5 separate regions of the Homo sapiens genome follow, and regions 1, 2, 3 and 4 are each linked to region 5. The links are contacts of gene promoters, found by promoter capture Hi-C in human tissues and cell types (Jung and others, 2019). All regions are on one chromosome and are shown on one strand. The core of a region is centred on a gene start or on the middle of the fragment in contact, and the rest is flanking DNA. Distances in the headings are between cores, read along the strand shown. Region 1 overlaps P4HA1 (prolyl 4-hydroxylase subunit alpha 1). Region 2 holds the start of PLA2G12B (phospholipase A2 group XIIB). Region 3 holds the start of P4HA1 (prolyl 4-hydroxylase subunit alpha 1). Region 4 overlaps ECD (ecdysoneless cell cycle regulator). Region 5 holds the start of DNAJB12 (DnaJ heat shock protein family (Hsp40) member B12).

Evidence for each region. The method cuts DNA at HindIII sites, captures the fragments that hold promoters and counts their contacts. A contact is called where the count stands out against the background at its distance.
Region 1: a fragment that was not itself captured here is called in contact with the fragment with the promoter of DNAJB12 in region 5 in 1 of the 25 tissues and cell types used here (aorta).
Region 2: the fragment with the promoter of PLA2G12B here is called in contact with the fragment with the promoter of DNAJB12 in region 5 in 1 of the 25 tissues and cell types used here (mesendoderm cells).
Region 3: the fragment with the promoter of P4HA1 here is called in contact with the fragment with the promoter of DNAJB12 in region 5 in 1 of the 25 tissues and cell types used here (dorsolateral prefrontal cortex).
Region 4: a fragment that was not itself captured here is called in contact with the fragment with the promoter of DNAJB12 in region 5 in 1 of the 25 tissues and cell types used here (dorsolateral prefrontal cortex).

What each region holds. Positions count from the first base shown.
Region 1 is chr10:73,031,744-73,034,443 of GRCh38, forward strand. The region is part of intron 9 of P4HA1 (prolyl 4-hydroxylase subunit alpha 1); the gene reads right to left. Among named protein-coding and RNA genes, the nearest start is that of P4HA1, 64 kb to the right of the region's middle. The HindIII fragment of the contact is 5,362 bases long and covers 1-2,700 here.
Region 2 is chr10:72,953,544-72,956,276 of GRCh38, forward strand. PLA2G12B (phospholipase A2 group XIIB) reads right to left here and starts at 1,263. Exons shown (of 4, transcript NM_032562.5): 1 at 932-1,263. The coding sequence starts at 1,142. The HindIII fragment of the contact is 10,065 bases long and covers 1-2,733 here.
Region 3 is chr10:73,095,528-73,098,227 of GRCh38, forward strand. It overlaps P4HA1 (prolyl 4-hydroxylase subunit alpha 1), which reads right to left and starts at 1,339. Exons shown (of 15, transcript NM_001017962.3): 1 at 1,239-1,339. RefSeq lists enhancers at 720-1,475, 1,720-1,789 and a silencer at 1,360-1,689. The HindIII fragment of the contact is 7,006 bases long and covers 1-2,700 here.
Region 4 is chr10:73,135,683-73,138,457 of GRCh38, forward strand. It overlaps ECD (ecdysoneless cell cycle regulator), which reads right to left. Exons shown (of 14, transcript NM_007265.3): 12 at 2,321-2,388; 13 at 1,022-1,236. Among named protein-coding and RNA genes, the nearest start is that of SNORA11F, 11 kb to the left of the region's middle. The HindIII fragment of the contact is 3,377 bases long and covers 1-2,775 here.
Region 5 is chr10:72,353,541-72,356,285 of GRCh38, forward strand. DNAJB12 (DnaJ heat shock protein family (Hsp40) member B12) reads right to left here and starts at 1,379. Exons shown (of 9, transcript NM_017626.7): 1 at 1,225-1,379. The coding sequence starts at 1,357. RefSeq lists enhancers at 836-965, 1,356-1,605. The HindIII fragment of the contact is 25,714 bases long and covers 1-2,745 here.

The sequences.
Region 1 (2,700 bases), core at 148-2,647, 680 kb after region 5:
AAACCACTGAAATGCATACTTTAAAAGCGTGAATTTTATGATACGGGAACTATATCTCAATTTTAAATGGTACTCCCAAATTCAGCTATATCCCTTTTTCACATATGCTTTTAAGCAGTCAATCAGTCCTTCGCTTTCTTCACTTCTCCTCTCACTGAGCTTTGATTCCATAGTTCATCATTTTAACATTCTTTCTAAACGCCTAAACTCAACTGTCTGGCAAAAACAATCCTGGATCAATCTCTTTTATCTAAGCGTATATCTCTGTCACCAAACCCTACTGGAGAAAGTCATGAAATAGGGCAGATATGTTCCACTAAAAATTCATGAATACCAACTTCAAATGGGCTCTTCACTTTACTTCCTCTTCCACTCTGTACCCTAACTCACTTCAGCCTCTCCCTTCACTCAGTAGATAATGTATTTCCTACTTCATAGAGCAAATAAACGCCTTTACAATTAAAAATGATTTCCCCAAATCTGTACATCCCTCCAGTTACCAATCTTTCTTTTCCCTCTTCAAGCTAACTTTGTCAGATTCCTAATCTCTGAACCCACTGTAATCTAGCTTTAGTCACTTATATCACTCCCTCAAAATTGCTCTTGCTAATCTTACCCACAGCCCTATTGTGCTTCTAAATCTAATGACATTTTTCAATTCTCATTGTATTTGTTCCTTTGGTAACATTTGTGACAATACTCATCCTTTTGGAAACTCTCTCAAACACTCATTCTCCAGGAATTCCTCTAGTATCTCAGGCTGCTTTTTCTTGGTCTCCTAATTTACAGCCTCCAACACTATATTCTGCCTCCCTCTCAGGACAGCAGCAACATTTCCTCAAGAACGTATTTCCTCTAGGCCTAAGGCTAGTGCGTATGCTCTTCTCTCTGCCCAGAATATTCTTTTTCACTTTGCAAAATTAAGACTCTGGATATCACCTTAGTTACCACTTCTTTAGAGAAGCTTTCCTTTACCTCTCCCGCTGCCAGACGAAGCCAAAGCTTCCACAGACAGACAAAGGAAGCGAGCAAGCGTAAGAGAGAGAGCAAGAGAGAGTGTGTGGGTTTTTCTTTAACAAGAGAAAGACATGGAGAAGAAAGAAGTTTTTACTAATCATTACCAACATGAAACTAACATGACAAACAGGGTGGATTCTTAGATTTATCCTATATTACTAAAATTATTTGCTTGGTGATATCTTGCAAATTTTTTGGGACTGGCTGAGTATTACAGAATTCCTCAGTGTAGCAAAAATGGGAAGAATCAAAGTGTTATTGTTGTAAAGAATATAGCTGATTAAGTATATTAAGAATTTTTTTCTTCTAATTCTGCCCAAGTTCCTGGTAGAACTAATCTGGTATATGTCAATGTACCTGTCTTTCCTGCCTAGCACAATTTGATGGATGTCTGAACTTTATAAGCAACCAACCAACTACTGACTTGATTTTTACAGGTAATTGCAATGCTAAATTGGAAAGCATTCTAATAAAGCTTCGAACTAAATGCCTCATGAACAAACTGTTCCTATTCCATCCTGGAACCTATCACCCACAGAGAACGTGTCTTCTGATATCTTCAACTTCCCTCCCTGCTACCAACAACTTTTAAATATCTAGTCTTATCTTTTCCTCTTGTACTTTGGTAGAATCATCGTCCTTCAGCCTTATAGAGGCAGACTTTCTATCTATGCTTTTGATTCTATGCTTTCTAACTCTAGATGCCTTACTCCAGCAGTTATTGCCTCCCTTTTATCTTTAATCTCCTCCTTGTCAATGCTTGCTTATTGAAGTCTCCTGCTACCAAGAAAAATACCTTCACTTTAGCCATTCTAGCAAATTACCACTCCAGTCTTTCACTTTACTCCTTTAAAACTGCAAAAGTAAGAAATGCTTGTTACATTCCACAAATGGTCATGGGACACTGGTTATCTACATGCAAAGAAAGAAGCTGGACCTCTGCTTCACATTATATTAAAACGAATTACTCAAGATGGATCAAAGACCTAAATGTAAAAGCTAAAATTATAAAAACTGTGGGAAGAAAACACAGGAGCAAATCTTTGTGACGTTGGACGAAGCAATGGTTTAGCTATGACATCAAAAGTACAGGCAACAAAAGGAATAAATAAATGGGACATTATCCAAATAAAAACCTTTTATGCTTCAAAGAATAACATCAGGAAAGTTAAACAGGATGGGCACAGTGTCTCAAATCTGTAATCCCAGCACTTTGGGAAGCCAAGGCAGGAAAATCACTTGAGTTCAAGACCAGTCTCGGCAACCTAGCAAGACCCTGTCTCCACAAAAAAAGTTTAAAAATTAGCCAGGCATGGTAGCGTGTGCCTGTGTAGTCCTAGCTACTCATAAGGCTGAAGCGGAAGGATTACTTAAGCCCAGGAGTTCAAGGATGCAGGGAGCTACAATCACACCACTGCACTCCAGCCTGGGCCCCAGAATGAGAACCTATCTCTAAAAAAATAAAAATTTGTGGTAAAATACATGTAACATAAAATTAGCCATTTAGACTATTTTTTAAATTATGGTAAAATATATATAACAGCAATTTTACCATTTTAATTAAGTGTACAATTCACTGGTGTTAAGTACATTTACAATACCTTACAACCATCAGCACTATCCATTTCCAGAACTTTTTCATCAAAACCAAACAGAAAACTGTACCCACTGAACAACAACTCC
Region 2 (2,733 bases), core at 13-2,512, 600 kb after region 5:
AACTAATGCTACCTGAGACCTGAGACTGTGCATGCTTTGGAAAACGTTTTCATGCGCATTGGCAATTACACGATGCCACCCAGCTTCAAGGCCTGGGGCTCCACATTTTGCTCCCCTTACATTAACTTCCAGGGCCCCTGGGACCAGGGGCTCTGTGCCGGCAGCCAGGTGTGCACCTTATATCTGTGTACCCCCAGCCATATTCAGGCAAGGTAGGGGAAGTGCTCCTGCCAGCTCACAAATCTGCATCTGGCGCCAAGTCCAGGGGACAGCCCCGGGATCCCTGGTGAGCCACGAACCCTTCCTCTCCACAGCATGCCTGTCGTTGCCGAGGCTGCAGGCAGGGACAGCTCCCTTGAGAAAGTCCAGCAAATTGATGCCAGTCAGGGACTGAGAGCTGGGAGGACGGTGTGAACTGCAGCAGGGGGAAGGGAGAATTTGTTTCCAAGCTGAGCACAGAGCAGCTGAGGAGGTGGTTTTGCCCCATGGCAGATTTTTCTCTGAATGTTCGGCTTCAGTTTTCATCCCTGGGAACTCCTCACAGAGGCCTCTCATACCCACCCTCCTTCTTCCCACCCCAGGTACCCTTTTTTCCTAAGAACTGCCTCACAACAAACTCATTAAAATGGCCCAGGGAAGGTTTCCCAGATACAATACAGGAAGCTCAGTGAAATGTGAGTTTGAGATAAACAACGAAGAATTTGTCAGGATAAGTATGTCCCAGATATTTCACTGGACATACTTATACTAATGACTTATTTGTTGTTTATTTGGATTTCACATTTCACTGGGTGTCCTACATTTTTATCTGCTAAATCTGGCAGCTCTAAGTGGATAACAGGAAAAAGTGCAAGACAGATCGTGACCTCTCTGGGGCTGTCCATGGGTCCACCAGCAACAGTTTTTACAGAAAGAGAAACCGCACACTCACCATATCGGCACCTGTACTGACAGACTCCATTCTTCCCTCCCAGCAGCTCCAGAAAAGAATCGAAGTAGCTATTGACGGATTCAAAGCTTCCCCGGAGGTGCCGAAGGCCCCAGTCTGAATAGGACTCCTCCGTGTCAGGGCTCGTGTCGCTCTGAGCCAGGCCACCCCCAAGGCTGAGCCACAAAACCAAGAAGCCACTGGCCAGCTTCATCCTGCAGCCAGGTAGGTACTGGCTTCTCTCCTCAAACCCCAGCCAGTGTCCCAGAATTCCAGGGACAAACCCCCTACCCAGATGTCAGGCAGGACTGGGAAAGGGATTATCTGGAACATTCAATCTGTCTGTTCCCCAGAGGTGGACTTTAAACATAGCTATGGAGGTTGGGATGAGATCAGGGCAATTAGAAAGAGGGCAAAGGTTAGGGAGTGGGAGGGCCAGGGAGAGAGAACATTTCAAAGTGGATTCTACCACCCTGGAGGGAGGGAGATGTTAGCCAGCTTCTGAGACGCAGGAACGGTGAAGGATTCGGAGTTCTACCCCGACCAGCTTGTTAAGCTGTTGATCAGTTACAAGTGTGGCTCTTCAGGGCCAGCCTCTTGATAGAAGAGCTTGACCGAAGGTCCTAGCCACACCCCTCAGCCAGCTACCTACATAGTCTCCAAGGAGAGTCAGGAGGATGTGTACAGGGCCCAGGAAAGCCCCAGCGGTAGGAATTAATAGTCACTTTACCAAGGGTCACGATAGTGTCAGAGTAGGTACCAAGTGTGTGTTAAGCAGAAGTTCAGATTTGAGACCCCAGCTTCTGCTGTGGAACCCACCTGGCTCTGACGCATAAATCCTCTAATTTGGCAGAGCTCCCAGATGTAGCCATCTGAGTGCAGGGACATTTTGGCTTCTATTTACAGCAGTATCTCTGTTTACACTCAGCATAAGTGGATCATAAGACAAGATCTACAGATGGTCCAAGGACAATTCTGGGGGCACTCGGCTCTCCTGGTGGTGTTTTTCCTTTGAGTTTCTTAGAAGTCAGAGGGTTTATCAAATAGTCTATTTGGGAGTGTAGGCTTTTAAGACTGTTGACTGAAGTCTAGTGTTTTGGCATCGTTTTCAGTTTAGACTGCTTTTAGTCGTGTGAAGAAATGCCATCTATAAAATCACTAGTCTAGGACCGGGCATGGTGGTGCATGCCTGTAATCCCAGCATTTTGGGAGGCCGAGGCGTTTGGATCACCTGAGGTCAGGAGTTTGAGGCCAGCCTGACCAACATAGCGAAACCCCGTCTCCACTAAAAATACAAAAATTAGCCAGGCAAGGTAGCAGCCGCCTGTAATCCCAGCTACTAGGAAGGCTAAGGCAGGAGAATCACTTGAACCCAGGAGGCGGAGGTTGCAGTGAGCCGAGAGCACGCCATTGCACTCCAGCATGGGCGACAAGAGCGAAACTCTGTCTCAAAAAAATAGTAATAATAAAATAATCACCAGTCTATAAAAATGATACCTTTATGGACCACATGAATCATTTAGCTCCTTTCTCAAATGTTTGTCTGGAAAGCCCCATGGAAAATAATGAATTAAATGAATTAATTTCTTCATTTTCAGTAAATGTGTTTGGCTGAAGACTCAGACTCCAGGAAGGGCAGTGGTTAAAAATTATTCATAGTCACAACAATGCCACCCAATATTTTAAAGCATCTATACTTTTTCAAACCACTTTCATGCATATGCACATACACAGAGGCACACACATACACATGCACATATGCACAAATGTTCATGCCAGTTTCATGAAGCAGATTAAATAGTCCC
Region 3 (2,700 bases), core at 89-2,588, 740 kb after region 5:
AAAAAAAAAAAAAGAGTAAAAAATTGATGAAAGAACGCTGCTGCCACGTCTTTGCCCCTCCCCCCTTCACGTAGTGGCTATTTCATCCCCTCCGAGTGCATTCCAAGCGAAAGTCCGAGAACCACTGCTCTCGGAGAAACCAGAAACAGTTAAGTGGAAATTGGCAAGTCTCTTTGGCCTTTTAGATCAATTCCTAAAAGAGGATCTAGCTGCTTCTTCAACCCTTTCTTAAAGAAAACAGTGCAAAATTCCAAGAGTCTTCACTCTATCCGGAACGCGTAAGATGTTAGTGTCTAAACATTGAATTTGTATGTAACAGAGTCGATTATTTAGGAGAAAGAGTCTCACAGTTATCATACCATCCTTCCTCCCCATTGAAACATACATCCGGGGGCCAGCCATGTAATCCAACTCAAAATCCTCACACAACCATGGAATTTGTTGGACTGATGTGGACTTTTAAAAGCTGCAAATTCTCGGCAGAGAGAGACAGAGAGACAGAGATTGAGAGAAGAGCTCTTGTCTCTTTTTAAAAAAAGTTATGGGGAAGAAGAGGGAAGGAAGCTTCCCTGACGACGAGGTGACCTGAGAGCCTACTTCCTCGGCGCTACGAGCAGAAAGCTCGGCGCCCCGGGCTACGTCTGGCAGCTAATGCTGCACCGCTGCGCGCAACAGATGAGTTCAGCCGGAACTTTCTGGGGAGGTCCCCCCAGCTCCCGGCGACTTTCGATAGGGCAAAAATGCCTGGCGCGCTGCGGATCCAGCTCCAAGCCTTAAAATCCGCTCTCCACCGCCACATGCGAACCATCTGCGGCTGTGGCGGCCAAAAGCCCACGCCCCGCGCTTGCGTTCCCCTTAGCCTCGTTAGGGAGGACCAGGTGCAGGGGAACTTGGAAAAAAAAAAAAGCAACAGAGTGATTCCTCCCCGGGAAGGAAAATTCAAGAAAGTCCTGGTCCCTAGGGCGGGGACTGAGGCTGCAGCAGCCCCAGCGGTCCGAGGCGCACTAGGGACAGAGGTGGGAAGGGGGGCACGAAGGAGCGCGGGCGCCGGGAGTCGCGTGGCGCAGGGAGAGGGGCCGAGTCTCCCGAGGGGAAGGAACCGAGGCTGCTGTGGTAACCTGGGGAACCCCCGCCCCAGAAGTACCACCACAGCGGGAAGGAATGGATCGCCGCAGCCGTCCGAGAAGGTCCACGGCTGCCCAGTGGCCTCAGTCTCCGGGATCGAGGGAGCGTCTCACCTGGAAAGTGGGACGAGAGGGCGGCGCGCTCTTCAGCCCCCAGTCGCCTCCACTCGGAGCGGCTACTTCCTACCCTCAGCCCGCTGGCGGCGCGACTGGGCAGCAGAGGGAGCCCGTTAGCCCTTTTATAACCTCTAGGCCGCGATGGCAGCGCCAGGGAGGAGGCGACTGCAGCCCTCGCTACGTGAGCTCGATCACACCAGCGCCCCGGCGACTGCGCAGGCGCCAAGCCCGTGCCTCCCTGCTGCCCCCACCCGTGGCCGGCCCGTGGAGTCTGAGGCCGAGAGGAGTGGCTGGGACCGGCCGCCGTGGTGTGGGTAAGCGGGAGTGGGATGTAACGCGCCTGCGCAGGGTTCTCGCCCCGCCACCGTTACCGTGGTTACCACGGGGTTTCCCCCGCTCCTGTTCAGTTTGCCTCCTTGATTTCAGGGTCCGCGTCAGGCCTAAGCGACGAGGCCGCCGGCAATAAAGTATCTTAAAAATGAGAAGAGGAACGTGGGAGTGTAGAAAATAAAGCAGAATTTTTCTAGGGTGGAAAATAATAGAGATTCAGTCTTGGTATCTCAGCTGTCTTGTTCCTCTCACATCTCAGCACTCATTTTATACTAATCGTGCTCTATCTCCTACCTTTATACCTTATCAGTAGATAATAGACTAAGAGCTCCAGGGTCAGGTTATCTCAATTCAAATCCTGCCTCAATCCTGTGTGTAACACTAGGCATTAACAACCTCTCCGTATCCGTTTACTCATCTGTAAAATAGAAATGACGGTACTACCCATCTTGTAAGATTCTTGTGAGAATAAAATGAGATAATGTATGTAAAGCACTTAACACATGCCTCACACACAGAAATGACTTAGTAAATATTAGATTCTCCAGTAACATTAATTTATATAAGGCACCCAATGTTGCGTTTGATCTTAGTCTAACATTTGCCTTAGTTATAAAGTAACCCCAAACCAAGGGTTTCTTTATATCTCCCTGTACTATGAGGGAGAATACAATGAAGAAGATAATTTTTTCCTTGTCAGTTAAAGAGAAAAATGAGTTGCTAAGACTTGTTATTCATTAAGAATTGTGGTTTCTAAAGTTTTCCATGTATGCTAAAAAGTATAGCAATAATTAACATTTGACTTACGCAGGAGGTGAGTGATTATATAGCTACAGAAAGAGAGAGAGGGTACTCTGGGAGCACTAGGCAACTAAAAAGTAGATATAATGATGTCTAAATCAATGGTTCTGAAAGCGTAGTCAGGGAATCCATAAGGTCAAAATTATTTTCATACTAAGACTTTATTTTCATACTAAGACTTACTGCCTTTTTCACTCTAATAACAATACAGTGAGGTCTTCCAGAGACTACATGCCTGTGATACAGATGGAACGCAGACACAGATATGAGAATCTTCTATTAGCCCAGACACTGAAGAGATTTGCAGAAATGTAAAATAATGCCACTC
Region 4 (2,775 bases), core at 269-2,768, 780 kb after region 5:
TGTACTCCAGCCTGGGTGACAGAGGGAGACTTCCATCTCAAATAAAATAATAATAATAATAATAAAATAAAACAAAATAATAATAAAAAAAAGGAAAATCTCAAGCTTCATCCCAGGCCTACTTAATCAGAATCTATGTTGTAACATGATCTTTTGGTTTATATTCGCATTAAAATTTAAGAAATACTGCTTTAGATAAATCTAATGTATGGTTTCTACTAGATTTTGACAATTCTGGAAGTGACTATAGTTTTAAAAGTGGTTTAGATGATCAAAGCAAGGAGAATTAACATTAATTAAAGGCCTATTGTAGGTTTTACTGCTGTCTAATTTGGTTCTCATGTTAATTTTATGATATGAGGATTACTGGTTTATAGATACATTCACAGTGGACAGCTGAGCTAGACTTCAAACCCTAACCCATAAGACTCCAGGGTTCTTGCTCTTTCCATAATACCTCTGTTTAGGATTAGACAGTGGTGGCATTAAAAACTAGGATGAAAACATAAACGGAAGGTGAATCCTAAATTTGGCTCTAAATTAGGGAAAAATACAAAATAAACTGTTAAAACTGGAAAGTTATTTGAATGTTTAAGATCCTGTTTATTTACTTATGTTATTTTGTTTTAATCCACTGTGGCCCAAGGCATAGTCTCAAAAGGTCTTGAGAACATGTGCCCTCTCTTTTTTAAAATCCATTTAAGCTGTAGTTTTTTTAAACTACTTTTGAAAAAAAATGTATTTAAGAAGTAGTAGTGTACAATCGCATTCTAATTTGAGCATATTATATGACTTTTTATTTTAAATCCTGATAGATAACGTAGAATAAGTAATATAATGAAGCTTATGTTTTGGAAAATTAAGTCTATGATCCTTTATCCTACCAGAGTTAGGAAAACAATTAACATTCTTATTTATTTCAAATCTCACACACCAAAAAAAGAAAAACTATGATAAAATATGGTTTTAGCTATCTGACATACTAGACTCAGAAAGAGAAAGAGGTTAAAAACACACATACCACTTGGTTCCTAGTGGTGAAACTTTTGCTGATGCAGGTGTGTGCTAGTTCCTGGTCCATCTGGGCCATGTATGACTTGAGATTATCAAGTGTTCCTTTCAGGGAAGCCTCTTCGCCAGGTTCGTGTGTTTCAAAGTCCAAGTCATCATCACTATCTAAACATTCAAAGTCTTCATCATCCAGATCATCAGAATCTGACTCATTAGGCCTTGGCCCTACACAGATCCCAAGAAAGAAAGAGCCACTTAGTAATTATTATTATTATTATTATTATTATTATTATTTAGTTACTACACATCTCAAAATAATTAGAATGTTACCCACAGAAAAAGACTAATACACACAGTCAGTCTACTTCACAAAAATCCCTTCTACAAATGGTAATGCTGGCAGATATGTGTGCATTTAATGTTGTGGAAAAGCGTACAAGCTGAATCAAAAGATTTAGCTTAAAAAAAAGTGAATTCAATTAATTAAAATATTTTTCTTAAAAAATTTTTAAAAATACCTAATAAATGAATACATTTTGATGTAAACATTCAAGCCATACAAGTATTGTCTCCAATCTCACTCTCTCCCCAGAGGTAAGCATCTTTTAGCAGTTTCCGGGTATCCCAATCTTTCTCTCTGCAGTTCTGTACATATATACATATTATAATTATTTTTTGAGTTATCTTTTTATTACTGATTTGTAAGTACAGTAATTCCAAAAAAGAACAATATAATATGGGAGCCAAGGTAAAACCCTATTTAAACACACAGCATTCAGTCACTCTCAAATATTTAATGAGGCCGGGCACGGTGGCTCACGCCTGTAATCCCAGCACTTTGGTAGGCTGAGATGGGCGGATCATGAGGTCAGGAGATCGAGACCATCCTGGCTAACACGGTGAAACCCCGTCTCTACTAAAAATACAAAAAAATTAGCTGGGTGTGGTGGCAGGCGCCTGTAGTCCCAGTTACTCAGGAGGCTGAGGCAGAAGAATGGCATGAACCCAGGAGGCGGAGCTTGCAGTGAGCCGAGATCGTGCCACTGCACTCCAGCCTGGGCAACAGAGCGAGACACTGTCTCAAAAAAAAAAAAAAAAAATTAATGAGCAGCTACTATATATGTCAAACACTAAGCTAGGCAGCCTCTACAAAATTATTCATGGGTAGTAATTCATGGTTGAAAGCAACTCAAACCAGGAAGAGAAAGCAAACATTTTGGCTTCTGAGATATCTCATAAACCAATGCTCTAGCAACAGCCATACTACTAACAGTTTCAAAATGAAAGTCAACATCACACCACTACTTACCTAAAATCTTATCAAAATAATTAAGAAAAGAATCTGCATCAAAAGTGATTGGAGCCTCAGAAGGTTCTCTGCAATATTAAAGGACAAAGACAATTAATTTATTCTAAATACAACTCTTTGAAACTTTTCTAAAGTGGTGCCATTCTTAGGAAAGCTACCAAAGATAGAATTTCTAAGGAGGCACAGCAAGAAAAGTTGTAGTTTAAGTTTTAAAAATCCTTGAGTTTACTGGCCTTGCAGGACAACAGAAATGGGAAAGTCTGATAAATGAAAAGTAAAAATTGCATCTTGTTTATGTACATTTAGCTTATGCTGATTTAGGGACCTACCCACTCTCTAGCCCCAATAAGATATCTAGCATTAGCAAAACCATTATTTATTTGAGTTAATTTAAATAAAGCCTGTTCTTTTAAGAACTAAAGCTTAAAAAATAAACAAGAACATATCTTCCCTTA
Region 5 (2,745 bases), core at 129-2,628:
TCCTTCATAAACATTTACAGAGTCACAGAACATTTTACTTTCTAGCTGTGTCATCCTGGGCATCCCTTACCTCAGAGATTTTCCTCACCCATAGAATAAAGATAATGATCTTTGCTCTGCATCCCTGACTGGCAGGCTCAAGTGAGAAGGCACAGGTGAAGGAGCTTCCTAAACTGCAAAGCCCTATGGGTATTATTGCCAATCACATTATCTGCGCCAACCCTCTAATCTTCCCGAGGAGGAAACCCAAGCTCAGGAAGGTCACGTGGTAGCCGTCAGGATGAGACTGGGCCCTTCGGAGTGCCTGTTATTCCCAGACGGTTTACTGAGTGGTGATCACAAGCACCACCCGGTGTCTCTCTCCCCTCTAGCGTGGATTAAGAAAAACTCCTTGGAAAACTTAGGTTAAAGAAAAAAGAAAGGGTTCCCGGGTGAAGCGAGGTGATGAGTTGTAAAGCCAGCTTCACTCTTCCCTCCCTGGCTCAGGAGGCTCCTGTCCAGGGCAACTCAGCAGCCTCGGCGTCCACATGGCTGACCGCCGCTGGACTCTTGCGGGCGATGGAGGACTGGCGGTGGCTGAGGTCAGCACCTCCCACCAGGCCACCCGCTCCGAATCTCATCATCGGGAGGAGTGAGGGGCCCGGCTTCAGGACAGTCCGAGGCGGCGGACTGGGGTGGGTGCAAAGGCCGGCTTGCATTTTGGGAGAGTGGTCCCTGACCCTCAGCCCGAGAGGTGAGAGGGAGTGAAGATACGGAAGCGCCTTTCCCTGGCGCCCGAAGAACAGAAATGTCTCCCTGTCTAGCGCCCATTCTCTCCCTTAAAGGAGTTATGTTTATTTTCCTGAACTGTAATATTTCCCAGGCCGGCGACTGGCCTGGGCTACCGAACGGCCCCTTGGGAAAAGTAGTTCGAGTTCACTTCCAGGTAAGTTCCCTTCGTCCCGGCTGCCAGCGCGTTTCATTCTCGGAGACCTCAAACCCCAGCGGGCTCCGCCAGCACCCCGAAAGCTGAAGTCCCGGCCGCCCGAGTCTCCAGACGGCTCGCATCCCGCAGAGGAACAAGAGGGAAAAACTACGCCTCCCAGCAGCCACCGCGCGCCTCAGTGCGCAGGCGTAGCCGCGCCTCGCCACCCCTCCCCCTCCCCCAACTGCTCCCGTCGGTCCGTTCCCGTGTTCCCCCCATCAGTTCTAATGTCCCCAGTCTCTCCGGCACCTCACACTCACCGCGAACTCGCGGCGTCGGATACAGCCGCTGTGCCTTCTCCAGGAAGCGGAGCGCCCGGTCGGGCTGGTTGCTCTGGATGGCCTTGAGGGCGATGCTGATACAGCGCTCAGCTTCATCCTTGTTGGATTCCATGGCGGAACCAGAACGCGGAACCAGGGAGGGGGAGGCCGGGCGAGCGAAGGGCTGCGCCACCCGCCGGCGCGTCGCGGGCAGCCGGGCGCGGAGTGATGACATCCACCCTCCGCCCCTCCTTTCCCGAGTTTTGAGCGAGGGTGGAAGTGCTACCGTATGTCTTCTAAGAAAGGGACGGCTGGTGTAGGTGTCAATAATGGTGCACGCCCAGATTCCATGTTCCGGAGGTCTTAGAGTTGAGTATGCGCCAACCCTCTAATCTTCCGGAGGAGGAAACCCAAGCTCAGGAAGGTCACGTGGTAGCCGTCGGGATGAGACTGGGGCCTTCGGAGTGCCTGTTATTCCCAGACGGTTTACTAAGTGGTGATCTATATACGTAATGTAACTACATACGTTTCAGACAAAGGTTATTTATTCACTGAACAGATATTGAGTGCCCACTGTTTGTGAGGCATGGTTTTATGATGGGGATACAGGGGTGAGCAAAACAAAGCTCCTGCTCTCATGGAGCTTACATTCCAGTGTGTGTAGGCTGGGGGAGCTCCAGATAGATTCAGATAGTGATAAAAGCTCTGAAGAAAAATTATGGAAAACACAGGGATAGAGAGTGGGAGGCGCTATTTTAAATAGCGCGATAAAAGAAACCTCTCAGAAGCTGTCATTAACAGGTACCAGAATTCAGGAACGATAACAGGTAGATGTGACTGTCTGGAGGAAGGGTGGTCAGGCCGAAGGAACAGCAAGTGCAAAGGCTCTGAAAAGGGAATTCTCTTGGTGAGTTATAACAGATCAGGAAGGCGAATACATTCTAGGGAGCGTAAAGATTCTACTACAGGCTGGGCGCGGTGGCTCACGCCTGTAATCCCAGCACTTTGAGAGGCCGAGGCGGGCGGATCACTTGAGGTCAGGAGTTCGAGACCAGCCTGACCAACATGGAGAAACCCCGTCTCTACTAAAAATACAAAATTAGCCGGGCATGGTGGCACATGGCCTGTAATCCCACCTACTCGGGAGGCTGAGGCGGGAGAATCGCTTGAACCTGGGAGGTGGAGGTTGCGGTGAGCCAAGATCACACCATTGCACTCCAGCCTGGGCAACAAGAGTGAAACGCCATCTAAAAAAAAAGAAGAAAAAAAAAAGATTCTACTACAGAGTGTAATCCAGTTCTATCATTATCCCGTTCTTCGAGGGCTATCACTCCAGTGAAAGCAATCTTGTGAAGGTTGCCAGTGACCTCCACGTTGCCGAATCCCCGAGTCATCTGTCAGCCCTTACATTGCTTGGCCTTTCAGGCAGGATTTGGTAAGATGCTACTACAGTAATCCGGATGAGAGTCAGGAAGCTACTATTATAATACAGGTGAAAATTAATGGTAACTTGGATAAGGG